Regions from separate parts of the Homo sapiens genome. Here all the other regions are linked to region 3. The links are contacts of gene promoters, found by promoter capture Hi-C in blood cells and fetal thymus (Javierre and others, 2016). All regions are on one chromosome and are shown on one strand. The core of a region is centred on a gene start or on the middle of the fragment in contact, and the rest is flanking DNA. Distances in the headings are between cores, read along the strand shown.

Region 1 (6,898 bases), core at 4,153-6,652, 1.4 Mb before region 3:
CTTCTATTTATTTGTATCTTCTTTTATTTCTTTTAGGTATGTTTTGGAGTTTTTAGTGTGTAAGACTTTTACCTCCTTGGTTAAGTTTATTCTAAACATTTTATCCTATTTGATACTATAGTAAATGGGATTGTTTTGTTTTCTTAATTTCCTTTTTTTTTTCTTTTTTTTAGACAGGGTCTTACTCTATTGCCCAGGCTGGAGTGCAGTGATACAATCTTGGCTCACTGCAACCTCTGCCTCCCAGGTTCAAGCAATTCTCCTGCTTCAGCCTCCCAAGTAGCTGGGACTGCAAGCACATGCCACCACGCCCGGCTAATTTTTGTATTTTTAGTAGAGATGGGGTTTCACCATGATGGCCAGGCTGCTCTTGAACTCCTGACCTCATGTGATCCACCTGCCTCGGCCTCCCAAAGTGCTGGGATTACAGGCGTGAGCCACCATGCCCGGCCTTAATTTCCTTTTTGGATTGGTCATTGTTAGTACATAGAAATGCAACTGACTTTTCAAAAAAACTTATGGAGCTATATGGTATTTCCTGTGTGGATGTAACATAATTTATTTAACCAGTCTTCTGTTAAGGAGCATCTGGGTTGTTTCTAATATATATATATATATATATATATAGAGACAGTGTCTTACTATGTTTCATATATATATATATATATATATATATATATATACACATATATATATGTATATATTTATAGAGACTGTGTCTTACTGTGTTACCCAGGATGGTCTTGACCTACTGGGGTCAAGCAATCCTCCCACCTCAGCCTCCCAAAGTGCTGGGAATACAGGGGTGAGCCGCCATGGCTGGCTGGCTTTTTTTGTTTGTTTGTTTGTTTTTTCAGAGATAGGGTCTCACTATGTTGCTCAGGATGGCCTTGAACTTCTGGGCTTAAGCAATCCTCCTACCTCAGCCTCCTGAGTAGTTGGAACTACAGGCCCACACCACTGTGCCCAGCTATCCAGTGTTTTGATGTTACAAATGATGCCGCAGTGAATAATCTTGTGTACATCTCATTTTGTCCCTGTAAAGTATATCTGTTGGATAAATTCCTAGAAGTTAAATTGCTGGGTTAAATAATATATGTATTTTAAAATTTCATAAATATTGCTCAAGAATTATGATTCTGACATAAAATAGGGGTTTTGAAGCTGTTTGTTTGCTTATTTATTTATTTATTTTCAGATGGAGTCTCACTCTGTTGCCCAGGCTGGAGTGCAGTGGCATAATCTCAAGTCACTGCAACCTCTGTCTCCTGGGCTCAAGCGATGCTCCCTCCTCAGCCTCCCAAGTAGCTGGGATTACAGGCACACACCACTACGCCCAGCTAATTTTTTTGTGTGTGTATTTTTGGTAGAGACAGGCTTTCACCATGTTGGCCAGGCTGATCTTGAACTCCTGAGCTCAAGTGATCCACTCACTTTGGCCTCCCAAAGTGCTGGGATTACAGGCTTGAGCCACTGAGCCCAGCCAAAGCTGTATATTAAAAATTATGGAGTAACTATTTTCTCAGCTGATTTGCTCTCTTTCAGGTACTGTATCTCTTATTCCCTTCCAAAACAAATAAGCACATTCACAAGTTACGCATTTATGGTCAAGAGTCAGAGAAAGGTCTAGGTTGCCTTCTGTGGCAATTTGAAGAAAAATGTGAAGATGTGTACCAGTAAACTTCTTCTAAAATAGTTGATGGGAACCCGTTGATAATCATCACTGAAAGCGATACACCTATATGTATATCAGTAAAACTTTGTCGGCCATCCTTTACTAACAAAGGAATTCTTTTTCTTTCTTTCTTTTTTTTTTGAGATGGAGAGATGGAGTCTTGCTCTTGTTGCCCAGGCTGGAGTGCAGTGGTGCAATCTCGGTTCACTGCAACCTCCGCCTCCTGGGTTCAACCAATTCTCCTGCCTCAGCCTCCCCAGTAGCTGGGATTACAGGCACCCACCACCACACCCGGCTAATTTTTTATATTTTTAGTAGAGATGGGGTTTCACCATGTTGGCCAGGCTGGTCTTGAACTCCTGACCTCAGGTGATCCACCTGCCTCGGCCACCCAAAGTGCTGGGATTACAGGCATGAGCCACCGCGCCTGGCCTCTTTTTCTTTTTTTTTTAAGTAAAAAAAAAATTTTTTTTAGAGAGGGAGCCTCACTATTTTTCCCAGTTTGGTCTTGAACTACTGAATTTAACCCATCTTCCCTTCTTGGCCTTCCAAAGTTAAGAGATTACAGGCATGAGCCACCATGTTCGGCTCAGGTATTCTCTTATGCTTCACAAATATAGTGAGTTGTTATTCACAATGTATTCACAAGTTGTTATTCACAACAATATTCACAAATGTTGTTCATTTTGAAAATGCTGTGATTATTGCTGGGCATGGTGGCTCACGCCTGTAATTCAAGCACTTTGGGAGGTTATGGTGGGAGGATAGTTTGAGCTCTGGACTTTGAGACATGAGCCTGGGCAACATCGAGACCTACTCTCTAAAAAAATAAAACAAAAAGATAAAATTAGCCGGGCTGTGGTGGCTTAGGCCTGCAGTTGTAGCTACTTGGGAGGCTGAGGTGGGAGGATCACTTGAGCTTGGGAGGTCGAGGCTGCAGTGACCCATGATCACGCCATTATGCTCCAGCCTGGGAGGCCAAGTGAGGCCCTGTCTCAAAACAAAATTAAAATTTAAAAAATCTATGATTGCTTGGCATGGTGGCTCATGGCTGTAATCCCAGCACTTTTGCAGGCCGAGGCGGGTGGATTACCTGAGGTCAGGAGTTCAAGACCAGCTTGGCTAACATGGTGAAACCCCGTCTCTACTAAAAATATGAAAATTAGTTAGTCGTGGTGGTGGGTGCCTGTAATCCCAGCTACTAGGGAGGCTGAGGCAGGAAAATCGCTTGAACCTGGGAGGTAGTGGTTGCAGTGAGCCGAGATCATGCCACTGCGCTCCAGCCTGCAGCCTGGGCTACAAGAGCGAGACTCCATCTCAAAAACAAAACAAAACAAAACAAAACAAAAACAAATTGTGATTATAGTTTTATTATTAAGTTTCTTTTGTGAGACTTGTCATTTAAAGCTGTTTAGTGTTGAGAAGTCTCTCAGCAACAGCTAGTTTCTACCTTAATAATTTCAATTCATTTAAAAATAATGTGAGGCAGGAGAATAGGGTTTGGAGGCAGGGAACCTAAGGCTGAGTAAAGTTGACTTCCTAGAACTGAATCAAAAGGAAAACCCCAACTTTCCACACCTAAGTAACAAAAAGACTACTCCCTTTGCAAATCCTCTTCCTTTTCCGCTTGGCAGATGGAAAACTGAAAGTATCTCTGATTGGTTGCAGAAAGCAGATGTTTGTATAGCAGTGTAACTTTGTAACTTCACTTTAGCCTCTGATTGGTTGCTGTCCACAACCAATTAGATGCTTGCATAGGGTGTGACCCTTGTAACTTCACTTTAGCCTCTGATTGCGGGCCACTACTTTATTTACATAGGGTGTACACCAAGTAACCAATGGAAAACCTCTAGAGAGTATTTAAATCCCAGAAAATTCTGTAATGGGGGTCTTGAGCCCCTGTGCTCTGGCAGCTCCTGCAGTCTTGTGGAGTGTACTTTCATTTTCAACGTGTCTCTGCTTTTGTTGCTTCATTCTTTCCTTGCTTTGTGCATTTTGTCCAATTCCTTGTTCGAAACGCCAATAACCTGGTAACATGTTGACTATTTACTATTTTTCTCATAGTGAAGTCAGTTGAACAGCAAGCACATTTCTGTGCTGCCTTGTGATGGAGTACATCATTCAAATTCACTGCATTTACCAAGGAGAAAAAAATGACTCCTGTAAATTGTATGTTGAAATGATATTTAATGTGTACAAGACAAAATCAGTATAGCAGGTACAGAGGTCTGGTTTCTATAATTGCCAACTGAACTCAAACATTTGAAAGATATAATTGCAATGTGTACAGGCGTCTGTTGATTAAAAAGTTGCCTGAGGCCAGGCGCGGTGGCTCACCCCTGTAACTCCAGCACTTTGGGAGGTCGAGGTTGGAGGATGGCTTGAGCTTAGATGTTTGAGACCAGCCTGGGCAACAGACAGACCTACCTCATCTATACCAATACATAAATACATAATTAGCTGGGCTTGATGGCACGCGCCTGCAGTCCCAGCTGCTTGAGAGGCTGAGGTGGGAGGATTGCTTGAGCCTAGGAGGTCGAGGCTGCAGTGAACTGCGTCACGCCACTGCACTCCAGCCTGGGTGACAGAGCTAGACCCTGTCTCAGAAAAAAAAAAAAAAAAAGTTGCCTGAGCCTATCAGATTTTCAAAGTGTTTCATTCAAAAAAGGCTCCCCTCTTGCTATCCCAGTAGAAAGCAGCAACCCTGTCACCTAACCCCGACAGGAGCTCTTGCATATTTCAAGAAAAATAAATAGAATGAACTAAAGCATGCATGGCAGAATAAATTTGGAAATAAATTTCGAAGCGATTAGATTTTAGAGGACTTGTTTGTGATTAGCAGAGATTACCAATGTAAAATCAAATTATAGATCATAAAAGCGGGAAAGGCATTTACAGATCATCCAGCCAAGCTTCCTCTGTAATGAGAAGGAAGCAGATCTAAATTGATTGGTTTGTGAGCTAAACATCACATCAAATTGGGGAAATGGCCCGTGTGTGTGTGTGTGTGTGTGTGTGTGTGTGTGTGTGTGTGTGTATTCTAAGAGACACTTTATTCAATATGGAAAGAATTTTATGCAGCGTTCAAGTTGGTCTTATGTCGTCTGCACACATATACATATATATAAGTATATTATACACATATACATTTCCAAGCATGTTGGTGTGCCAAATATTATGTATAAAACATCTAGGAAAGCAAATAACTTGATGATAGCCTAGCATATAGGAAAGAAAATACTTACATAGGATGGCCATACAGATTAGTGGTTAAGAGTGTCTGGTGAATCTCGGCTCCACTACTGTGGGACTTTGTGTCTTGGTTTCCTCATCTGGAAAATGTAGGTTTGTCTACCTCAGAGAGTGTAAAGATTAAATGAGATAACCCGGATAAAGGATTAGTGTAGTGCCGAGCATATAGTAAACTCTCAATAAATGTAGGTTGCTGTTATTACTTCGTTAATATGTCAAAGAAAAAAGAGGTTGGACCAAAAGAGCATTTTCAAAATAAAGTCAAACTATGTCACTAGCACTTTCAGGTCAATTGGGACTAAATTGGACCCCCTGCGAAAAGGTGGAGGGGATCAAATGACGTCGACCGCCTTAGCAACAGGCCCCCAAAGAAGGTGAATTTCCGTAGCCAATAAGACTCTGTGCTTTGGAGGAGGTAGCCAATGGCTGACGGAAAGAGAAAGAGGGAGGACGCGCCAATTCTCCTGCCTGAGCCTCGGCCCAACAAAATGGCGGCGGCAGCGGTGTCGCTTTGTTTCCGCGGCTCCTGCGGCGGTGGCAGTGGTAGCGGCCTTTGAGCTGTGGGGAGGTTCCAGCAGCAGCTACAGTGACGACTAAGACTCCAGTGCATTTCTATCGTAACCGGGCGCGGGGGAGCGCAGATCGGCGCCCAGCAATCACAGAAGCCGACAAGGCGTTCAAGCGAAAACATGACCGCTGAGCCCATGAGGTAAAACGCAACCCCGTCTCATGGGCCCCAGCGGTCTGGGCCCAGGCACCGTCTGAGTCGGGTGTTTGGGAAGGCGTTCGCTTGGTGGGTTAGGCCTGTGTGTTGCTTAGCCGAAAGAGGCATCGTTTTCTCTTTAGGTGAGAAGGGTTTCGGGGTATCGGCGCAAGGCTCCGACGGGGGTGGGGGTGGGGATGGGGTGGGGGGAGGTGGGGGGGGCGCGGCCTAGGGTATGGGGCGCTTCTTGCAATCTCCCCTAAACGGTGACGCTTGGTCGGGCTCCTCTGTTTATTCTTTGGTGCCTGTGGGATTGAGACCTCGAAGTCGGAGGCGGTCTTTGGTATCCCGGTCATTTTTGCTAATCTTTGGGCCTAGAAACTGCGTGGGGAAGAAGCGGGGGGAGGGTGAGAAGAGGGGGAGGGGTGGGCGGGCGCGAGGATGTGAGATCCCAGGACGACTTAGAGGCGTTTAGGTTGCTGGAGATGGGAAGCACCCGGGCCCTGCGGGATTTTTTTTCTGCAGCCCCAGGAGACAAGCCTTTTTTTGATTGGGTTGTGGTGCAGTTCCAGGTATTTAGGTATCTTTTCTACTCCATATCCTGAAGGATATCCTTGGGTTTATTTCTAGGCGAGGGGGGACTTAACACAGGGTTTTGCTTCCAGAGGACCCTAGTATACTACTTTTTGTGATGTCCAGCCTTAATGGGACCTCAAGTGTTTCCCCACTTTCTGGGCAAATTTCGAGGAGTAATTAGGCCCTATCTTTATTTACTTATTTATTCCATGAAGGATGAAGGGCAGGTTAACGTGGGCTGATGCGAAGTAAGATTTATTGCAAGGGAAAATGCCTGGCAGGCCTCCTCTTAACCAATCAAGCACGTTTATTAGGTTGAAGCTGTTTTTCTGTGTGCTTCTGATTTGCCTCTTGACGGGTCTGAAAATTTGGGTAGTCAATATGAAATGTATACACTTTTACCCAGGTGGCTGGCTGGCGTTTCAGTTTGACATTTGAATTTTCATCCCACAATGTGAATTAAGTAATTTTTTTACTCGGAGATGCATCCTTGGCGTCCAGTGGCAAAATAAAATTACAAGGAGCATGGGTCAGAATTGCATTTCAAGTTGGCGAAATGTGCCTTTGAGTAACTCTTAGATTGGCATATGTTTTTAGAGCAATTTAGCTAGAATGTAGAATTGGGCAATGAGCCTATGATACGTATGTCTGTATTTCTGCATGAACAAGCAGTAGATTATATTTTCTTTACC
Region 2 (7,056 bases), core at 35-2,534, 1.5 Mb before region 3:
ATGTAAACTGTTTATTTTTCTTTCTTCTTTTTTGGAGACAGTTTCGCTCTTGTAGCCCAGGCTGGAGTGCAGTGGCACGATCTCGGCTCACTGCAACATCCGCCTCCCAGGTTCAAGCGATCCTCTTGCCTCAGTCTCCCGACTAGCTGGGATTACAGGCGCCCGCCACCACGCCCAGCTAATTTTTGTATTTTTAGTAAAGACAGGGTTTCGCCATGATGGCCAGGCTGGTCTCGATCTCCTGACCTCAGGTGATCCACCCTCCTCGGCCTCCCAAAGTGTTGGTATTACAGGTGTGTCAGACACTGCGCCCAGCCTACTGTAAGTAAACTCTTTTGAGGCCAGGAACTCTGTCTTATTTCTTGTGCATCACCCCCTCCCCACCACCCCCCCGCACCCGGCAAAAAAAAAAAAAAATTAATAACCTCAGTATCATCTAATTCAATGTTCTGCACATATTCTCAATACAAAGCCATACTATTGTAGATAAAGAGTCTGTGATTAAAATAAAGATCAGATCCTGGACAAACGCTGAATTGTGAAACGATAAGTGTTTGTGCTTAAGATAATCTCAACGTCTACAACGAAGAAAAGTGTCAAAGATAAGATGCCACAGGGTCGGACAATGGACAGTAACTTTACTGGAAAGGGGGCACAATGAACAAAACTAAGTGGAAACAAGAGTTCTCTCAGTTTACCTTACGCTCCCAGAGCAAGACAAGAAGCCAAATATCTATTTTTCAATTATTATTTCATCAATTATGGTCATTTTAGTAACCTTAGCTTCCAAAGTATAAAGAGGTGTCACTAAGCAAAGACCCCAGTCCATGTGACTTTCAATGCCAAACACAAACTTTCTTGTACCCTCAATTAATTGGGTAACGTAGGCCATGGATGATCAGGACATTCTCTCCAAGAGGGTACAAGAAAGTGACACAGGTCAGGATTTAATTTCCCCTCCTCTATCCCCTGTTAGGGGAGGTAAAACATAAATGTAGTTAATACCTGAATTGTGAATAAGTGAAACTTTCGAGACTGCCCCAGACTAACATGACCTTCTCACCACACTCGTAGTACAAACTGACAGCACAGAAGACCCCCTCCAGGAGAAAGGACGACGGGAAGCCAATGTAGGACTTACCTGGTTTCTCTATCCTATGGTTAAACCTCTGGAGCTACGCAGACCGTGGCAGCGATAAATCCACGTACGCAGGCTCCAACAAAGCTCACACAATCGGAGAAGTCACAGTAGCTGCGGCTGCGGCGGCGGCAGCAACAACTCCTCCCTCTGCTTCTCTTTTCCCACCCCCCGCCGCGGCGGCCAGCCGCCTTTACCCCTCCCTCCCTCGACTACCCCCACTTCCGGGTGATGCCCCTGCCGGAAGCAGGGCCGCCACGGGAAAGAGAGCGACTGGTCACGTGAAAAGGAACGCGTGGTCTAGAGCCAGCTTCTCCTGCCCCCTGCTGCCCCCGGGCCGACACGCAGCCTCGAGTGGGTCTTTGTTAGGGTACGAGTCCACTATCCCACCCCGCCCCCACGACAAAAGCGAAACCAGAAAACCCATACTAAAACAGTGCCTTTGTCATCTTTAGTTTCCTAACCTCAGGCCAAGATGTAACATAAAAGATCCTTATAAGTCATCTTCCACATAGTTCATCTTTGCCTAGCATGAAATTCACGTGCATCTGTTAGACTGTGTTAACTGCCAAGATGTAACATAAAAGCTCCTTATAAGTCATCTTCCACATAGTTCATCTTCGCCCAGCATGAAATTCACGTGCATCAGTTAGACTGTGTTAACTGCCAAGATGTAACATAAAAGCTCCTTATAAGTCATCTTCCACATAGTTCATCTTCGCCCAGCATGAAATTCACGTGCATCTGTTAGACTGTGTTAACTTGCTTCCCGTAGACTGTGTAGCCTAATTCCAGATGTAAGTGCCAGAACTATGAATTTATCCTCTTCCCTCCATTGAAAAATTACATCAAGAGGAAAATGTTTATAAATTCATAATTTTTATATGTGTGTTGAGGGGGTAGGGACGTCACTTCACCACCTTCATAGCGCCATTCCAAGCTCTGAACCACTCCCCCATTTATTCATTCACTCGTCCATCATTTTACACACCTAGAAGATTCCGGTGATGCAAAAGTGTTACAGTCTCTGTTACCATGAGTTCATTTAGAAATGAGATGCATAAAATGTAAACAATGCAATAAATGGTACAGAAAACATTTGAAAAAAGGGTCATTTTATTCTTGCTTTCCAACTTAACATTTTGAAAAGCAGCAAAATTCTAGGATTTTTAAAACTATGAACATTAACAGTAAAAAGAGGGAGAGGCTCCATCTCACTTATTTCAAAGCAAGATGTGGCCTTTTCATATTTCCTTTCATGAAGTATCTGTCATAAGATGTAGAACAAAACTAATCACAGGACTATTTGTATTTTCATCTGGAACCATTTGAACCCAGTTCCCACAGAAGAGTATGAAGCCTAATAATGTTGCAGAAATCAAAATAGTACACAAAATACAAATATCAAGTAAATATTTGTAAAAGACTTAGAACAGCGTCCGGCACAAAGTAAGCATATTTAAGTGTTGAAATAATTTCCATCCTAGCTGTTGTCAAGTCCCTATTAAGCCTTGACAGGCAACATTTAAAATTACCCATAGATCTACATTTTAGGTCTGTGATTAAGTATTTCAGAATTATTATCCCCCTCCACACTCATCCACATAAATATAAAATTAGCCTCAGGACTCATCTTCCCAGGCATTATTTTGTAGTTGTCAATGTGTGCAGCCTTAATTATTAAGATACAAACTCAGCCCCAAATTTAAAATCTTAAAAATCACATCATATGAAATGAAGATAGCTTTTAAGTGGGTTTCCAAATATTAGCAAGTTGGTTTGTAACTATATTAACATTGTGTTAAGCATCCAAAAGAAATTCACTAAAAGGCAAAACCAAAAATATATCTTTTTCAGAAGCAGAACATTGAATCTACTAGCTATCTAGTATTTTTATGTAAATACTAAAGTTTATCACTATGAGCTGCAAGATCCTCTGCCAACCATGTACATTCTTAGGCACTCTAATATTTAACATAAAAACCTAGAGAGCTATATATATATTTTGTTGTTGTTTGGTTTTGAGAGTCTTGCTGTCACCCAGGCTGGAGTGCAGAAGTGTGATCATAGGTCCTTGTAACCTTAAACTCCGGGGCTAAAGCGATCCTTGCACCTCAGCCTCCCAAGTAGTTGGAACTATGGGCACACACCACCACACCTGGCTAGTTTTTATTTTTTTGTGTGTGGAGATGGGAGTCTCCCTTTGTTGCCCAGGCTGGTCTCGAACTCTTGGCCTCAAATGATCCTCCCACCTCAGCTGCCCAAAGTGCTGGGATTACAGATATGAGCCACCAGGCCCAGCCTAAAACTCTTGTCTTTAAATGCATCATCCCTAATCCTCCTTACCAATGCACAAGCATAGAAGGGAATGTCTTCAAGAAATAATCAGGTTTGCTGGGGGTTGAGCAGACAGCAGGTGTCCCTAAAATGCTTATGAAGTGTATTAATAACCCCAGTGACATTAAGCCAGGAGGATGGGAACTCAACATCTGTACCTCTACAACTACCACAGTACCCGTGTCTAGGTAAGTTAAAATGAATCTAAAATAACAGAACACAGGTGCTACAATAATTCTGTCCTAGAGTGAAATTAAGAATGAGATTTATGAGGTTGGGCACCGTGGCTCACGACTGTAATCCCAGCACTTTGGGAGGCCGAGGCAGGTGGATCGCCTGAGGTCAGGAGTTCGAGACCAGCCTGGCCAACATGACAAAACCCTGTCTCTACTAAAAATATAAAAATTAACCAGGTGTGATGGTGGGCGCCTGTAATTCCAGCTACTTGGGAGGCCGAGGCAGAATCCCTTGAACCCAGGAGGCGGAGGTTGCAGTGAGCCAAAATCACACCACTGAACTCCAGCCTGGATGACAGAGCAAAACTCGGTCTCAAAAAAAAAAAAAGAATGGGATTTATGACATTAACCCTAATGTTAAAATATTTCACAGCCATCCAAATAGAGTTTAAAGGATTGGCAATGATTTTAAGGTAAGTAACTTACCTAAATTCTTCAGACTTACAGATACTTGAGGACAGAGGACTAATTTGACGACTTTCCAACTCTAGGTATGACTGAAACTCAAAGCGATGTTACGGGTAAGTTGAGAAAATTTGTGTGAAAGGATATTTTCATGGCTCTGAGAGCACTAGGAAAGCTCCAAGGTCAGTATATACTGTGATGGCACACACACACAAAAAACTGCTTCATTTCTAGTAGTGGTCATAAGTTTTAGAATTACTCATCAGGATAAGATTAACTACAAAATTAAGTTCAAAAAGTGTGTTCAAAGTTACTACCACCACCAGGTTTTATCACACAAAGCAACATATAATTTTGATCACAAATGGACACAGAAAACATTCTAAATTGTCATACAGATGACAACTATCACTTAGCTTAGTACAAACCATACTGAAACTGCTTCCACGTCGTGAGAAATAAGTGTTAATTCAGTGACAAAAAGGTATATAATTGAAGGTTGACACTTCCTTAAATACATGTTTATTTTACTTCAATATCGCTCAGGGTTGTATGTATTTGAATACTTCAGTACTATTTTGAACATTCTAAATATGAAATACCATAAAGCGTTCAAATTTATCAAACAGTGGTACAATATGGTTACTAAACTTGCAACTTAATTTACAATGACGTTCAATTTTTCCTCTTCAAATAAAATCACTGACTTTGGTCCATTTGATGAGAAACTAGGACATATGCCATGACAGCATACTTCTAGCACTCTATGTAATAAGCAAAAGATAATTTAGCTAATATAGACAGGTTACCTGACTGAAATTCTACTTTCTGCTTAATTGATCACGATCAAGAAAACTACAAAAAAAAAACAAAAAACAAAACAAAACAACTACCACAGACTACAGCTCTCAGCCAAGAAAGTAATGATATATAAGCCGGGCGCGGTGTCTCATGCCTGTAAGCCTAGCACTTTGGGAGGCTGAGGTGGGTGGATCGCCTGAGGTCAGGAGTTCAAGACCAGGTTGGCCAACATGGTGAAACCCCATCTCTACTAAAAATACAAAAATTAGCCAGGCATGGTGGCAGGCGCCTGTAATTCCAGTTACTAGGGAGGCTGAGACAGGAGAATCACTTGAATCCGGGAGGCAAAGGTTGCAGTGTGTCAAGATCACACCACTGCACTCCAGCCTGGGCAACAGAGTGAGACTTCATCTCAAAAAAGAAAAACAAAGAAATATGTGGTACAGATATTGCTCTTCTTCAGGTAACATACATAAAATCCAATGTTATATACTAAAATAATAATCCACAAATCCAAACATTGTTATAATTATACAACAGGTGACTGATAGTAGATAACTAGGAACAGACTGCATTTGACAAGATTTTCTTTAATAACATCATAAACATCCCTAATATGATGAAAGACCAAGAGCTATAATCAAGATGAATATGCCAAAACAGCCAAGGAGCTAGTAGCTAGTCTTCAGACAGGCTACGAGTTTGTTTTATAGGACCACTCCGCCCTTGGGTCTGGTGACACTTTAAGTTTTCTAGGCAGGAGTGAAAAGGAGTTAATAATGCCAATTCCAGGTATAAATACAAATGAGAGGCACATAGTAGTAGGCATAACCAAAATCCAGGCCAAATTTTTGGCTCAAAGGTGATCTGCAATAGTTCCATGATCAGTTATTTATAATTTCAGCTTACTATAAAGTTGACTTCCAGGTCAAAGGCAAATTTTCCTTTCACATTACCTCATAAAAGCCATTTAAGGGCTGGGTGCCGTGGCTCACGCCTGTAATCCTACCACTTTGGGAGGCCAAGGCAGGCGGATCACCTGAGGTCGTGAGTTTGAAACCAGCCTGACCAATATGGTGAAACCCTGTCTCTACTAAAAATACAAAAATTGCCGGGCACGGTGGCTCACACCTGTAATCCCAGCACTTTGGGAGACCAAGGTGGGTGGATCACGAGATCAGGAGCTCGAGACCAGCCTGACCAACATGGTGAAACCCCGTCTCTACTAAAAATACAAAAATTAGCCGGGCCTGGTGGCGTGCACCTGTAATCCCAGCTACTTGGAAGGCTGAGACAGGAGAATCGCTTGAACCCGGGAGGCGGAGGTTGCAGGAGCCGAGATCACGCCATTGCATTCCAGCCTGGGCAACAGAGTGAGACTCCGTCTCAAAAAAAAAAAAAATTAGCTGGGCGTCATGGCATGTGCCTGTAGTTCTGGCTACTCGGGAGGCTGAGACAGGAGAATCACTTGAACTCAGGAGGCAGAGGTCGCAGTGAGCTGAGATGGTGCCACTGCACTCCAGCCTGGGGGACAAAGTGAGACTTCGTCCCAAAAAAAAAAAAAAAAAAAAAAAAAAACCTATTTAAGAAGCTGCACAGCATTTGACTTTAATATTAACATAAAGGCTAAAGTGATCAAGCTTAGTTTCATTTACAAAGAAACAAAACCTACAATGAAGGTTTCAAATGTACTTTATTTCTTCAATAATGCCATATCTTAATGGGTACACAGTGCTTTAATTTGGCATCAATTATGAGCTGTTTTTTAAACAATTCATTATTACACCAGCTGGGATGATTACTGATTCCTCCATTCCTTTGGGGTAACTCTGCCAACAGGGGACAGGTTCCATTCTATTCCGACTTGTGTTGCTACCTGTAAGAATTAAAATGCTGTCAGTTACGTGTTTAAACCAGAGTACACTCTCTCGGAGACTATTTCTTGAAAATGACAGATATTCTGTTCTATAGGTTAAAAATACACAGAAACTCACCTGGGATCTAATACCCTCCATATAGGCCAAACCTGATTGCTGTCCTAATTTTCTAGAGCAGTCCTGTTGTTCAATAGAACTTCTTGAGCTGAAGGAAATGTTCTAGATCTTCACTGTTAAAAACAGTAGTCACTAGCTACATGTG
Region 3 (6,812 bases), core at 1,184-3,683:
GTGGGGCATATTTTGAGGAATAGCTGGAAACCTCTGAATCAGGGGATGGTACCTCTGCAGCAGCTTCCTCAAAAAAGGGCCTCCTAAAGTGAGGGAGAGCCTGCCAACCCTCAGCAAAGGCTCTGGCAGCATCTTCTTCCAGAGCTTCGTTGTATTTCTCTGGCCAATCCATAGGATCTTTGTTATATATTTTCGCCATGAACTTCAGAATTTTCATCTTGGTGGTTTCTAGGTGGGATCTTGGGCCCCAGAAAAACTCATACTCCACTGGTTTACAGTCAGTTACTGGCCTGTAGTCTAAGTAACGCTGCCATACAAACTCCACAGACAGAAGTCTCTTTGGGTTCCCAAAAATGGAAAGCCTCCTTTCCCGCTGCACCCCCATCCTCCAGAGCATTTCCCAAATCTCAGCCTCCTTGGCTTGGTTGCCATTCAGGAATATTTGGCCTAGAATCATCATCAGGAGGCCCATCTTTGGCCCATTTGGGCTCTCTTCTAACCCTTCAAAGGGCACAGGTCCCAGTTTGTTTAACAGAATGTAGGTGTGTGCCTCAGGGTCAAGTTCTCTCAATTCAAACCTAAAAATGCACTCCAGGTGGGCTGCTGCTCGCCTGAGTATCTCAGGAAACTGGTTGCGATATTCTTTAACAATATATTCCCGCATTTCAGACTCCCGGATAGGGTACTTGCTCTGATCCTTCACCAGCAGGAACTGCAACAGCTCAGCTACGTTCTGTTCCATAGGGTCTTGGGGCTTCAGGGTAATTGCAACCCGGGAAGTATTGAGGCCCATAATACTAATGGAGTTGGGGCTCTCACAGTCTCTCAGGACCTCGAATTCTATAGGGCCTTCTGCACCCTTAGGACCCTCAGAATCTGAGTCCACGGAGGCCTTGGTTACCCTAGGGCTTGGCAAAACAAGGGAACACTTGGAGGGGTTCCGGTCCACAGAAGCACTAGAGCTAAACAATGTGCTCGGGCCCTCACCAGGGTTAGGCAGCACGGAGCTTCCCGGTCCGTCAGGGGCGGTGGGCTGCACTAAGGTGCTTGCGCCCTCACCAGGAGTGGGCGGCACGGAGGTGTCCGATCCATCAGAGGCGGTGGGCGGCACAGAGGTGCTCAGTCCCTCACCGGGGATTGGCAGTACGGAAGTGCTTGGTCCCTCACCGGGAGTGGGCGGCACGGAGGTGCTCAACTCCTCAGTGGCGGTGGGCGGCACGGAGGTGCTCAGTCCCCCACCAGGGGTGGGCGGCACGGAGGTGCTCGATCCCTCACCAGCAGTGGGCTGCACGGAGGTGCTCAGGCCCTCGGTGGCGGTGGGGGGCACGGAGGTGCTTGATCCCTTACCGCGGGTGGGCACCAAGGAGATGCTTTGTCCGTCAGAGGCGGCGGGCAGCACGGAGGTGCTCGGTCCCTCACCAGGAGTGGCCGGCACGGAGGTGCTCGGTCCCTCATCACGGGTGGGTGGCACGGGGGTGCTTAGGCCCTCAGTGGCGGTGGGCGGCACGGAGGTGCTCGGTCCCTCATCAGGAGTGGCCTGCACGGAGGTGCTCAGGCCCTCAGTGGCGGCGAGCGGCACGGAGGTGCCTGGTCCCTCACCAGGTGTAGGCAGCACGGAGGTGCTTGGTCCCTCATCAGGGGTGGGCACCACGGAGGTGCTTGGTCCCTCATAGGCTGTGGGCGGCACGGAGGTGCTCGTTCCCTCACCAGGGGTGGGCGGCAGGGAGGTGCTCGGTACCTCAGAGGCGGTGGGCGGCACGGAGGTGCTAGGTTCCTCAGAGGAAGTGGGCGGCCTGGAGGTGTTCCGGCCCTCAGAGGCGGCAAGCGTCACAGAGGTGCACAGCCCCTTAGAGATGGTGGGAGGCCCGGAGGTGCTTAGGCCCTCACTGGGGGTGGGCAGCACGGAGGTGCCAGGTCCCTCAGAGATGGTGGGCTGCCCGGAGGCGCTTGAGGCCTCAGAGATGGTGGGCGGCACAAAGGTGCTTGGGCCCTCAGCGGAGGTGGGCAGAACGGAGGTGCTTGGGCCCTCAGAGGCGCAGAGGCCCTGGAGGATCTGGGAATCGCTGGGACCCTGGGGGACGTCTGAGCCTGGCACATCAGCGGGGAGACCGGGGGCATTAGGGGCCTGCATTTCGCCCCAGCTGCTGTTGTGCGCAGTAGCCTTTGCAACGCGGCGGCGGCGGCGGCGCGAATTCTGGCTTACCAGAGACATGGTCCTGCCCACCGGCGTTGGCGTGTAGGAGCAGACACCGACAGGCCCGCGATCTGGCAGAGAGGACGGGAGGTGTGTAGGTGCCTCGGCACAAAACTGCCGCTAGCGGTAATGATGTTGCTGCTGCTGCCAGAACCAAAGTTCCAAGCAACTGCTGAAGCTGAAATTAGAGGTGGTGAAAAAGGCAGGCACTGGCCAGCAGTGAATGCTAGTCTCACTGTACTCTGCTTCTCACACCCCGCCCTCTGCCGCAGTCCGCGCAGGCGCAGACTGGCTCTGCGGCAAGGCGAAATCGCCCCGCCCCGCCCCTCCCCTGGGCCTGAGAAAGTGGATGCGGTGGTTCTGCACCAAAGGAGAGCACTAGCAGAAGGGAAACTTTGGTAGGGTGAAGCAAGGAGCTTAGAGTAGATGCATTAGGGAGTAAAAATGGAAATAATAATAAATACTTCTCAGATTTAGGGTACGATTGGAGGGCTTCTACACAGAGTGCCAGGCACTTAATAGATTCTCAAAATTGGTAAATATCATTGAGATTTGCAGTTTTCCCGAAGCTGTTTCAAAGAAAATGTGCATTGTCTCTGGAAGGGTAGAACCCCCATCCCTGACCATGTCTCTTCTATCACTTTCTCCATTTATGTGTCTAACTCCTCCCCTAATGTTGTGAGCTAGAAAGAACTCTTTCCTAGAGGGTCTGAATGCCTGAAATTTAGTACCAATTAGGGAGCTTCGAACACGCTTGAAAAGCCCAACATTCCCAGCCCAAACTTTCCCAGTCACCCAGGCTTTAGTGGGAAAGCCACTAAAACTCTTGAAAATTTGTTTAATTCTTTCACTCCACAATCACCTGCTCATTTAATAGAGCTTTTGTGAAAGTCAGTTGAGATACCGAGTGTTAAGGGATGTGTTACCTGCTCTGTTTTGCTCTATTACTCTAGCACTTTTGAGCAGATCCAACCCTGATCCCTTTATTCATTCACTCAACAAACACTGGTCATCTATCCCGAAGTTACAGTTAATCTCTTTGTCATCAAGGAGCACCCGATGTAAAAATGGGAGTCAGAGAAAAAGTAAAGCTAAATTTTCTAGAAGTTTGTAAAGAATGCAGGGGATGGCAGGGTCAGTTCTACCTGTAGATGCAGAAAAGGCTTCATAAAAGAGGAGATGTTTAAAAAGATGAGTGGGTAGATATTTACCAAAAGGACAAGGATGAGAAAATCATTCCAACTGAGAGTAGCACGGCAGCAGTGAGTAAGAAAGAAAACACTGAAGAGGACGGGCAGGCTGTTTTTAGAAGTAGGGGAGAGAGAGAGAGGAAGAGAGATAGAGGGAAAACACTAACTTTCTGACACTCACACAACCACTACAATTCAGCTTACCACTATTGACCCTTTATTGATATGTTTATATCTTGCTGCAAACATTTATTATATGTTGTCTTTCTTTATATCTTCTCAAAAATCTGGGAGTATACTTTTGTCTTTTTTTCTTTTTTTTTATACTTTAAGTTTTGGGGTACATGTGCAGAATGTGCAGATTTGTTACCTAGGTATACACGTGCCATGGTGGTTTGCTGCACCCATCAACCCATCATCTACATTAGGTATTTCTCCTAATGCTATCCCTCCCCTATCTCCCCACCTCTTGACAGGCCCTGGTGTGTGATGTTCCCCTCCCTGTGTCCATGTGTTGTAATTGTTCAATTCCCACTTATGAGTGAGAACGTGTGGTGTTTGGTTTCCTGTTCTTGTGTTAATTTTCTGAGAATGATGGTTTCCAGCTTCATCCATGCCCCTGCAAAGGACATGAACTCATCCTTTTTTATTGCATAGTATTCCATGGTGTATATGTGCCATGTTTTCTTTATCCAGTCTGTCATTGATGGGCATTTGGGTTGGTTCCAATACTTTTTTTTAATACGTCTTTAGGAAAGGGAAAATAACTGGCTACAGTCACAATGTGTCACCATCTCTGTCTCCAATTGGAGAAGCAATCCCTTATATGAATAACCAGTTTCGGTTCTGTGAAGTCCAATGCAGTTTTTATGCCTGGGGCCTATTCAGAATGGGAGGCACAAAAAAACCTAAGATATTTCTAAGCTTTAGCAACAGATATTCCTAACCTAGGGTACAGTGATTTTTAAAGACCCTGAAGTTGTTCAAACCTATAAACTAAAAATTTTTACCTCTAGAAATATATTCTAAAGAAATAATAAGATATATGTGCAAATATTTAGCTAAAATAACTTTTATTATATAATTTGTTCTAGTATAACAGAGCTGAAAACTAAATGAATGTTAAATAACTAAAGAGTATTTGAAGAAATTATGGTACTAAAAATGGAATACCAGTAAGTCATTATAATGATATCAAAGAATTCCATTTCTAATAATGTATAGTTGATTGCAGCAGCCCTGCGGAAAAAAAACCCCAGAAATTTAGGTAAAGAAACCCTTTTATGGCAACAAAGGCTACCAATATAGCATCAGAAACCTATAAAGGCAATGAGGACTTCAAGAGTAATGATCTCAGAAAAAAGGGAAGTGCAAAGAGGTGAGTCTTACATTGTATACAAGTTTGTCACTTAAGGAATTTAATGATTTGTAAGCTGATAATTTGGAATTCTGAACTTACTGAAATAGTACATCAAAAATGAAGGCAAAATAAATACATGTTCAGAAATCAGTGCTGAGTAAATTGATCACCAGTACACCCACACTGAGGAAATACTGAAAGGTTCTCCTCTGAAACTGAAGAGATGCAAGAAGCGAACAGTAATAGAAAGGATAAATATGTGGGTAAACAGACATATTGACAATGTAAAACAATAATAATAATATGTTTTGTGTAATTTATATGTAGAATTAAAATATAGGAAACAAGTGAGTGCAAGAGATTTGGGGACTGATCAAGAAAAATATATACTACCACACGTTTTCAGTAACACACAATGAGTTTTTGTTGTTTGTCTGTTTTAGAATTTCAACTTTTATTTTAGATTCTGGGGATACATACACAGGTTTGTTATATGGGTATATTGCATGATGCTGAGGTTTGGAAAACAGATGATCTCATCACCCAGGTAGTGAGCATAATACTCAACAGTTTTTCAACCCATGACCCCCTTTCTTCTTCCCCCTTCTAATAGTCCTCCAGTGTCTGTTTTTGCCACCTTTATGTTGATGAGTACCCAATCTTTAGCTCCAACTTATAAATGAGAACATATGGTATTTGGTTTTCTGTTTCTGTGTAAATTCGCTTAGGATAATGGCCTTCAGCTGCATCCATGTTGCTGCAAAGGACATTATTTCATTAGTTTTTATGGCTGTGTTGTATTCCATGGTATATATGTACCACATTTTCTTTAGCAAATATCAGTGATAGACACCTAAGTTGACTCCATGTCATTGCTCTTGTTAATAAGGCTGCAAACAACTATGAGTGTATGTGTCTTTTTGGTTGAATGATTTCTTTTCTTCTGGATATATGCCCGATAATGTGATTACTGAATTGAATGGTAGTTGTGTTTTATGTTCTTTGAGAAATCTCCAAACTGCTTTCTATAGTGGTTGAACTATATATAGTGTTTATTATTACTAATTTACATTCCCACCAACAGTGTATAAGCATACGAGTTTCATTTGGTCAACCCTTTGACAGGTTTGCAAGGGCATGGGGTTAATCAAAGTCTGAGATCTTCCAGAGGCTGGTGGGAGGTCACAACCTAGAAAATGAGAGGACAAGCTAACTGGAGAGAGGGAGGGGAATCAAAGAGATGGCTTATACATGTAGCGATGTCTCTCAGCAGCAAGACAGGGAGTTGCTGGGTCAGAGATCTCTGAAGGGCAGCAGTAGGTTAGGGTTTTTATCTCCTGGAGTTTATCCTATCTATAGCTAACAGATGATTGTAGTTTCACAGGGACATGCAAAGAAGGCAGCCTCTAAATGGCTAACAATCTACTTATTGGTCTATATTTAAAACAATTGATGTGTAAAAAATTGAGTTTGGTACTGGCAGAATCAATATATAGAGACTATCTTTGGCTCATGCATATAACAGTCCATCCCCTGGCCCAATGTTGTCTTATAATTAAAATTGTATGTTATTTTGCAGTGCCTAAGTTTCTTGCCAGAAATAAAGGAGACAGAATCCTATAAGGGTACAAACAAGGATTTCAAAACCCTTTCATAGCCAATCTGCCCACGTAATGGAGGAAAGCCAGGGGAATCGATTAGAAAAAGGAGCAGATTTTAATTTGTTCAATTGTTCAGTCAGTAGAGTGACATTATAACCCCTTTGCTACATGTTCCTGTCTATCCATAATGCTAGAATCAGATTGGCAGAAGCAAGTCCAACATGCAGTTAAATTTGTCATTATATGTGTTTCTGTGACTTAAGATATCTGCAGGTTTAGGCAAATGAATGTTCCTCCTTATTTGGATTGGTGTGCCTTGCTTGAGTTTCCGGGTGATTGCCAGTAGTAAATAGCATCAGAATGTTTGCATGGGTCTAGAGTAAGCTTCACAGTATCTCTTGGCAGTTTTTAAAAAGTTATTAATTTATACATGCACCAAATTTGATTCTGAACTGTGGAGTACTCAC
Region 4 (7,759 bases), core at 3,775-6,274, 1.2 Mb after region 3:
CTACCTGATTTCAAACTATACTATAAGGCCACAGTCATCAAAACAGCATGGCACTGGTACAAAAATAGGCACAAAGACCAATGGAACAGAACAGAGAACTCAGAAATAAACCCAAATACTTATAGCCAACTGATCTTCGACAAAGCAAACAAAAATATGAAGTGGGGAAAGGACACCCTTTTCAACTAATGTTGCTGGGATAATTGGCTAACCACATGTAGGAGAATGAAACTGGATCCTCATCTCTCACCTTATACAAAAATCAACTCAAGATGGATTAAGGGCTGAAATCTAAGACCTGAAACTATAAAAATTCTAGAAGATAACTTTGGCTTACATACATTGGCTTAGCCAAAGATTTCATGACCAGGAACACAAAAGCAAATGCAATAAAAACAAAGATAAATAGCTGGGACTTAATTAAACTAAAGAGCTTTTGCACAGCAAAAGAAACAGTCAGCAGAGTAAACAGACAACCCATATAGTGGGAGAAAATCTTCACAATCTATACATCTGACAAAGGACTAATATCCAGAATCTACGAGGAACTCAAACAAATCAGCAAGAAAAAAAAAAACAAACAATCCCATCAAAAAGTGGGCTAAGGACATGAATAGACAATTCTCAAAAGAAGATATACAAATGGCCAACAAATATATATATATGATGGAATACATATCAAATATATATATATGATGGAATACTAGTCAGCCATTAAAAAAATGAATTAACAGCATTTGCAGTGACCTGGATGAGATTAGAGATTACTATTCTAAGTGATGTAACTCATGAATGGAAAACTAAACATCATATGTTCTCACTAGTATGTGGCAGCTAAGCTATGAGGATGCAAAGATATAAGAATAATATAATGGACTTTAGCAACTTGGGAGGAAAGGGTGGGAGGGGGTCAAGGGATAAAAGACTACAAATATGATGCAGTGTATACTGCTTGGGTGATGGGTGCACCAAAATCTCATAAATCACCACTAAAGAACTTACTCATGTAATCAAATACCACCTGTACCCCAATAACTTATGGAAAAAAATAAATAAGTGAAACCTGAAAGCTTTAAAAAAATAAAACAAATGTTGAAATTATTGCAAAAAAATGGGACAGAAAAACAAGGGAAACTATCATTTTATCTGATTACAATTGCTACATTAATTATCCTTTGTGTCAGGGACTGTGCCAGGTCAGACCCCCTTTCTGCCTCCTTGGAGTCCAGTCTAGTTAGGTATACCAGGATATGCCCAGTAAATGTTATAACAGAGGTCCGTATAGCTTAGTGGTGACTTCCTCCTTCCTGCTCTAAAAGTCAGAGGACTCACACGGGAAACACACAAAAACCGAAAATATGTCCATGTTTTAAACAATTTGCACGTCACAGTTTTTTTCTGCGGTGGGCATTTTGGTTTTGTGCAAGCTGGAAGGAAATGTTGGGAGATTCCTCCAGTGTTGATGTAATGCTAGGTCAGGCTCTCTAGCCTAGTTCTGTTTAGTGTGTGGAATCCCTGGATCACCATATCTATAGCCCGAATCAGCAGGCTAGCAAATCAGCACACAAGGGAGACTGGCCATTCTCCCAGGGGCAATGGCCCAGTCTAAACACAGCACAATTACCTGTGGTCAGGTTTTACTCAAGACTATACAAACAACTGCTAAGGATGGGAGTCAGGAACTTGTATTTTAAAAAAAGAGAGAGAGACTCCACAGGCAATTCTGATGCACACAGCTTTGGTTAAGGACAATACATTACTTAGTCACATAACTCAAATCACATTAGATTGCACTCACATTAGGGTTACACAGGATGTTCATTCACCCTAAGGATAATTTTCTCCCCTCCAGGTGACTAAAGAGAGTCACAAGGCTGAATGTGCTCCTTTTTTTGTCCTATGTCACATACTGACATACTCTAACATTGCTAAACTTTTAAACAAGCAGCTTGCTGAGGCCATGCCAAAGCCCCACCTAGGACAAATACACAGGAAGCATTCAACAGCTCACACAACAGCTTTAATGTTTCAGGAAACAAAAAATAAAAAACAAAAAACTGGACAGGGAGGATGATCTTTTAAATACACTGCATTGCCTTTAAATATGAGGTCATGAACTATATTCACAGGAAAAGCACATTACTCAGATTTTGCTGAGTTTAGTATATAAAGGAGGCAGAAGAGAAGGATGTGTGGTTTAATCCATTGCAACAACAACAAAACGACATAAATGAAGAAATTTTTTCTTATCCCAAGTTCACCAGCAACCCACATACGTATGGCTGAGCAAATAATCTACTCAGTGTTTACTGCACTTTCAAAGAGAGAAATTTATTTCCTTGAAATTCAATAATACAACCAACATATTATGTTTCAAATATTGCACATTTCAAAATCTAAAAAGACATTTTAAATCAATACAGACAATGTTCTCAATCTTGCCTGTTTCACATATATACAACAACATGCAGTCCTGCTGGCTCAATCCCGATTTCCCCATACCAAAGTCAATTCACAAAGCAATCCCTTCACTATATAGATGCTAAGGACCAGAAACAATAAAAGAAAAAATATGTACTCCAGTGGCTTCTATTATCGGACAGTTCCACAGTGCACATTTATGCTGTCACATCAAAATAGAGAAGAGAATAAGCCCCAAAGAGAACAGGGTATGATAACTGATGGCACCTTCCATAACTAGACCTATGTAAATATAGCTCCTCTTACCATAGGCACCTTAAACCAGCCTCCTAGAGGGGCTAAAACAGGTCTTGTGAGAGAGGATGACAATTTTTTAAAGATAAAGGGAATATAAAGCCTCTAATTTGGTTAACAAAAACAAAACTAAAAACAATGTCCCCAGCCTAAATAAGCAGCAATACATTACTAAAAATTGTGGTGGGTCTTTCCATACTATATCAAAACAAGATAAAAATTATCTACAATATCCCAGTATTCATTTTCAAGATAAAAAAGTGAATTCCACATAGAGTTAAATTCATTTTACTGTCTTCTGACAAATCAAGAAGACAGCACTTATGAATGCAATTAGAAGCATGCACAAATCCAAACATGAGGCTTGAAATTCCTTAAATGTGAACAGCTCTTCACAGTTCATAATGAATATTCATGAACAGTATCTTGTTTTAGCCTCCCAGGGGCTCCATGTGATATTTACCAACATCTTCATTTTACAAATGATAAAGGTGAAGCACAGAGATGCTAAACATATTGCCTAAATCACTTCTCTGGATCCTGCTGTCTCCTTCCAAACTTAGAGGAAAAAAAAAAAAGGATTCCACTTACACCCAGGTTTACTACATAACCCAGGTTTTTCTGACTAATGACATATAATCAGGTATTATTTTGTCATATGTGAATGCTAAATGCCATTCCCTCTCCAAGCGCTATAGCAAGGGCACTTCACCTTTACATTATCATGACACTTTGTGAAATCTAAAAAACTAAGGAATCCTCACCCTCTAAAAAAAAAGGCACATATGTGAATGTTCATAGCAGCATTATTCATAATAGCCAAAGAGTGGTAAACCACCCAAATGTTCACCAACTGATGGATAAACAAATTGTGGTATATTCATATAATGGAGTATCATTTAATCATAAAAAGGAAAGATCCCACACGGATGAACCTTGAAAACATGCTAAATGAAATGAGTCACAAAATGACCACATATTGTATGATAATGAAATGTCCAGAATAGACATTTTTTATATGTAATGTGCAGAATGGGCAAACCATTAGAAATAGAAAGTAGATTAATGATTGTCTAGGGCTTTGGGTGGGTTGGGTGAAAATGGGGAGTGACTGTTTAATGGGCATGAGGTTTCTTGCTGGGGTGATGACAAATGTTCTAAAACTGTGGTGATGAATGCACAGCTGTGAACATACTTAAAACCACTGAATTATACACTTTAAATTCTTGAACTGTATGGTCTGTGAATTATATCTCAATAAAGATGTTATTTAAAAACAACTATTAAAAATCTTCATATGAGTAAAATTTCCCAGTTAATTTATGAGGGTTTGTTAAAGCCCTGAACCCATCTACTGGTACGAGGGAGTCGAAGACCCAAGCGTAGTAACTTCTGCTCTATAGAAACAAGAATCATCATCTATTTTTCTTTGTTGTATATGTAAGATTTATTTTGGCTGCCCCTACCCTACCACAACTACAGCAAACCTATGCCTCCTATTTTTTAGGATCACTATTTTGTCTATTAGATAACATAACCACAGTAGTTTTCAATATTGATTCATTAAAAAGAGTAAAATAGTATAGTTTCATAAATATAATTTTAAGAGCTACAAAAAAACTCTAGTAATTGAGCATCTATTATTTGCAAGGCATGGCCGGCATTCAAAAATGTAAAAGATTTCTGCCTTCAAGATGTCATAGGCAGGATAAGATCTATACAAAAATAACAATATACGAAAAAGAAGGTGAATCTTGCATTAAAAAGACCAGGGAAGATAAGCCAGGAATAATGATTAAAGGGAAGCTTCTTGGCAGAGGTGGACAATTATTTAATGCTGTGTTTCACCCTGAAGAATAAGTATCCTGAACGTACATAAAGGAGACACAGGGAATTCCAGATGAGAGCAGAAACAGATATGTTTCAGAATTGTTCCTAGGAACTATGAAGAAGGGCCTTCATCCCAAGCTAAGGGGGCCAGGCATGGTGGCTCACACCTGTAATCCCAACATTTTAGGAGGCCGAGGCACGAGGATTGCTTGAGGCCAGGAGTTCAAGACCATCGTGGACAATATAGCAAGACCTCCATCTCTACAAAAAAATAAAAAATTAGCCGGGGGGCAGTGCCATGTCCCTGTAGTCCCAGCTACTCAGGAGGCTAAGGCAGGAGGATTACTTGAGCCCAGAAGTATGAGGGTACAGTAAGCTGTGATCTCACCACTGCACTCCAGCCTGGGTGACAGAGAAAGATCCTGTCTCAAAAATATCAATCAAGCTAAGGATCCTGGACTTTATTTGGTAGGCTCTGAGAAGCCAAAGAAGGTTGCTGAGTAGGGCAATTACTGAATCAAAGATGTATGTTATGAAGATTGATTGTACAGTAATGTATGGGTGCATGTGGAAGAGAGGAAAAACTGCAAGCAGAGAAACAGTATTATTACAATAGTGTAAGACAAGGTTTCTAGAGTCTGGTTTAGGGAGTGGCATCTGTCATTCAGTAGCCATTTTTAAAAGATCAAGGCATGTCCCCCCAACCCCTGCCACTAAAAAAGGGGTGTTTTGATATGCTGCTCATTTAAAGTGCTGCCAATAAAGAAAATAGCTGTAGTTCATCATGGTACATATTTCCCTGGAGAAAACCCATTTACAACGTAGGTTTAGAAATTTCAAAATTACATTTTAACATGAAGTTCTGGCTACATTGGTTTGTGGGATTAGGAAGGGCCAAAGGCTCCTTTAGGCTCCCTTTGATCCATTAACTATGTTCTGTGAGTTTACAGTGAAAAATGATAAGAGTTGGACGATAAGCTTTCATGTGATCAAGTAAACCTGAACTCCAAGACTAAAAGACCTTGTTTGCAGTAGCAAATACTAAAGGGTCAGGGCCTGAATAGAATTTCCTTGAAATTGCTTTATTTCTATTTATGAACCTGAGGTGATTGGTGGTAGTGCATAACCTTGGATAGTAACCATTTCTGGGTTATAGGTTTACCATGTGGACAAGCACTGCCCACATAGTATAGGGGAGTTTACCTGCCTGGAATGGCCAAGGAGTTGTCTTTCCTGGGAGAGACAAAGAGCCCAGAGGCTACCTAAAGTCTTCCTCCCCACCCAAAGTGATGTTAGACACCGGAACTTGGAAAGAGAAGGTTGGCGTTCGAGTTACACGACACACACACACACACACACACACACACACACACACACACACCAAATAAAAGGTCTTACCCCAATCTCCAAAGTTTGCCAAGGCCAAGAACACTGTCTCTTAGCCCTTTTACTTCCAATCCCCGCCCACAGCCTGCAAGACCCTCCACTTCCCTTTCCCCTTCCGCTCTTGGCTTACTTGTCACGGATGATGGTCTGTAGCTCCCGTATCTGATCATTCATAGGCAGCAGCTTAAGCTGCGCCCCGATCTGCCGGGAGAGTTCGCAGTCCTCTAGGAAGGAGTTGCCAGCTGGTGCGTCATAGCTGCTACTGTCACCACTACCACTGTTGCCCTCTGAGTTGAGGCTGGAGCCGCCGCAGGCCCCAGAGTCCAGCTCGGCCGGCAGGCTAGAATGGGCGTACCCCGTGAGGAGAATCACCTTGGCCCTGGAGGCTCTGTTTCCCCCTGCGTGGTCCAGGATCAGATCGCCAGGTCGCAGCTGCTCGGGACTTGGGGTTGAGGCAGAGTTTACTTGCTGGTTGTGACAGGGCATGGAGTCCGGACACTGTAACTCCGTGGCCATACACCGGGCCCCGGGCTATCCCCGCTGCTACTGAACACTAAAGATAAAGAGGAACGGGTAGAAAGGACAGATGCTCACGTGCTCTCTCGGTTGCTCCCGCCTCCTCAGAACATCTAACCCTGGCTGTCCTTTCACCCCTAGGCCGCTGTTGGTTTCCTTTAGCACACTTTGGCTCACTCCCGCCCACACCAGACGTACTGCCTGCCTAGACACCCTATTGGCTGCACTCCCCGCCACTCTGCGGCGCCACTGCTTGTTAACCCTTTGAGTCACCCTTGCTACGTGGGTTCCCACAGGTAGCTAAGCCCCCGCAGCGAGGCCAAGGATGCCAGCTTGAAGGATCTTCCGGGGGCCCCTGGGGCTTCTGCATTCAGAACTTTGGGTGATTAGTAGAGCCAGGAAAAACTGGGGGTGGCAGGTGATGATACACAGTTACACACGTAAGGCCCATGTTTTCAGACTTTGTGACCTAGCAGAGAAATTATATCTCAGTAACCGCATCTTCAGTTAGCTTGTCTGCATAACAGAAGGAAGAAGTAAAAAAATGCCTAGCAGGCTGCTGAAGAGGCTGTCCTCTACTAGACTGTTCTAGAAACTGCAGCTTCCCAAGTATGCTTGACCGCCAAAGCTTTTCTTATCTTTATTGGTTGGGCCCCACAGTGTACACGTTGTCATGGGGACTCAGGCGGCATTTCAGATCCACTATCATTTTGAATCTTTAAAGTACTTGGAAAGACGCTTATTTTTAAGTGTATGGACTCACTATAACGGCCTGAGGTAAGAGTGTCTAGGGCAGTACTTTTCAAACATCAGTATGTACCACAATAATTGTAGAGCTTGTTAAAATGCAGGTTCTTACGGCTCATTTTTGAGATTGTGATTCTGTAGATCCGAGATGGGATACAAGAATCTTTTTTTTTTTTTAACTTTTAAGTTCAGGGATATATGTGCAGGTTTGTTACATAGGTTAACTTCTGTCATGGGGGCTTGTTGTAAAGATTATTTCATCGCCCAGGTATTAAGCCTAGTACCCACTAGTTGTCTTTCCTGATCCTCTCCCTTCTCACACCATGCACTCTGCAGTAGGCTCCAGTGTGTGTTGTTCCCCACTATGTGTCCATGTGTTCTCATCATTTAGCTCCCACTTATAAGTGAGAACATGCAGCATTTGGTTTTCTGTTCTTGTGTTAGTTTGCTAAGGATAATAGGCTCCAGCTCCATCCATGTCCCTGCAAAGGACATGATCTCATTATTTTTTATGGTTGCATAGTATTCCATGGTGTATATGTACCACATTTTCTTTATCCATTCT

What was found. Contacts are between HindIII fragments. The CHiCAGO score rates a contact against its expected background, and 5 or more counts as called.
Region 1: the fragment with the promoter of ATRX here is called in contact with the fragment with the promoter of MAGEE1 in region 3 in 1 of 17 cell types (total B cells); the score reaches 5.8 in total B cells.
Region 2: the fragment with the promoter of ATP7A here is called in contact with the fragment with the promoter of MAGEE1 in region 3 in 4 of 17 cell types (naive CD8 T cells, total CD4 T cells, fetal thymus and 1 more); the score reaches 9.9 in naive CD8 T cells.
Region 4: a contact is called between a fragment that was not itself captured here and the fragment with the promoter of MAGEE1 in region 3, in 3 of 17 cell types (total CD8 T cells, non-activated CD4 T cells and total CD4 T cells). The highest score is 8.0, in total CD8 T cells.

The regions. Positions count from the first base shown.
Region 1 is chrX:77,784,720-77,791,617 of GRCh38, reverse strand. ATRX (ATRX chromatin remodeler) reads left to right here and starts at 5,402. Exons shown (of 35, transcript NM_000489.6): 1 at 5,402-5,636. The coding sequence starts at 5,617. RefSeq lists enhancers at 5,329-5,518, 5,529-5,638 and a silencer at 5,739-5,788. The HindIII fragment of the contact is 7,766 bases long and covers 4,590-6,898 here.
Region 2 is chrX:77,904,921-77,911,976 of GRCh38, reverse strand. ATP7A (ATPase copper transporting alpha) reads right to left here and starts at 1,284. Exons shown (of 23, transcript NM_000052.7): 1 at 1,142-1,284. It overlaps COX7B (cytochrome c oxidase subunit 7B), which reads right to left. Exons shown (of 3, transcript NM_001866.3): 3 at 4,601-6,793. The coding sequence ends at 6,716. The HindIII fragment of the contact is 7,135 bases long and covers 1-6,559 here.
Region 3 is chrX:76,423,331-76,430,142 of GRCh38, reverse strand. It overlaps MAGEE1 (MAGE family member E1), which reads right to left and starts at 2,433. Exons shown (of 1, transcript NM_020932.3): 1 at 1-2,433. The coding sequence starts at 2,212. RefSeq lists enhancers at 1,576-1,705, 2,176-2,385. The HindIII fragment of the contact is 4,624 bases long and covers 1-4,310 here.
Region 4 is chrX:75,272,943-75,280,701 of GRCh38, reverse strand. It overlaps UPRT (uracil phosphoribosyltransferase homolog), which reads right to left and starts at 6,617. Exons shown (of 7, transcript NM_145052.4): 1 at 6,062-6,617. The coding sequence starts at 6,447. It overlaps LOC124905200 (a long non-coding RNA gene), which reads left to right and starts at 6,666. Exons shown (of 4, transcript XR_007068269.1): 1 at 6,666-7,224. RefSeq lists enhancers at 6,237-6,446, 6,607-6,656, 6,677-6,726. The HindIII fragment of the contact is 1,002 bases long and covers 4,524-5,525 here.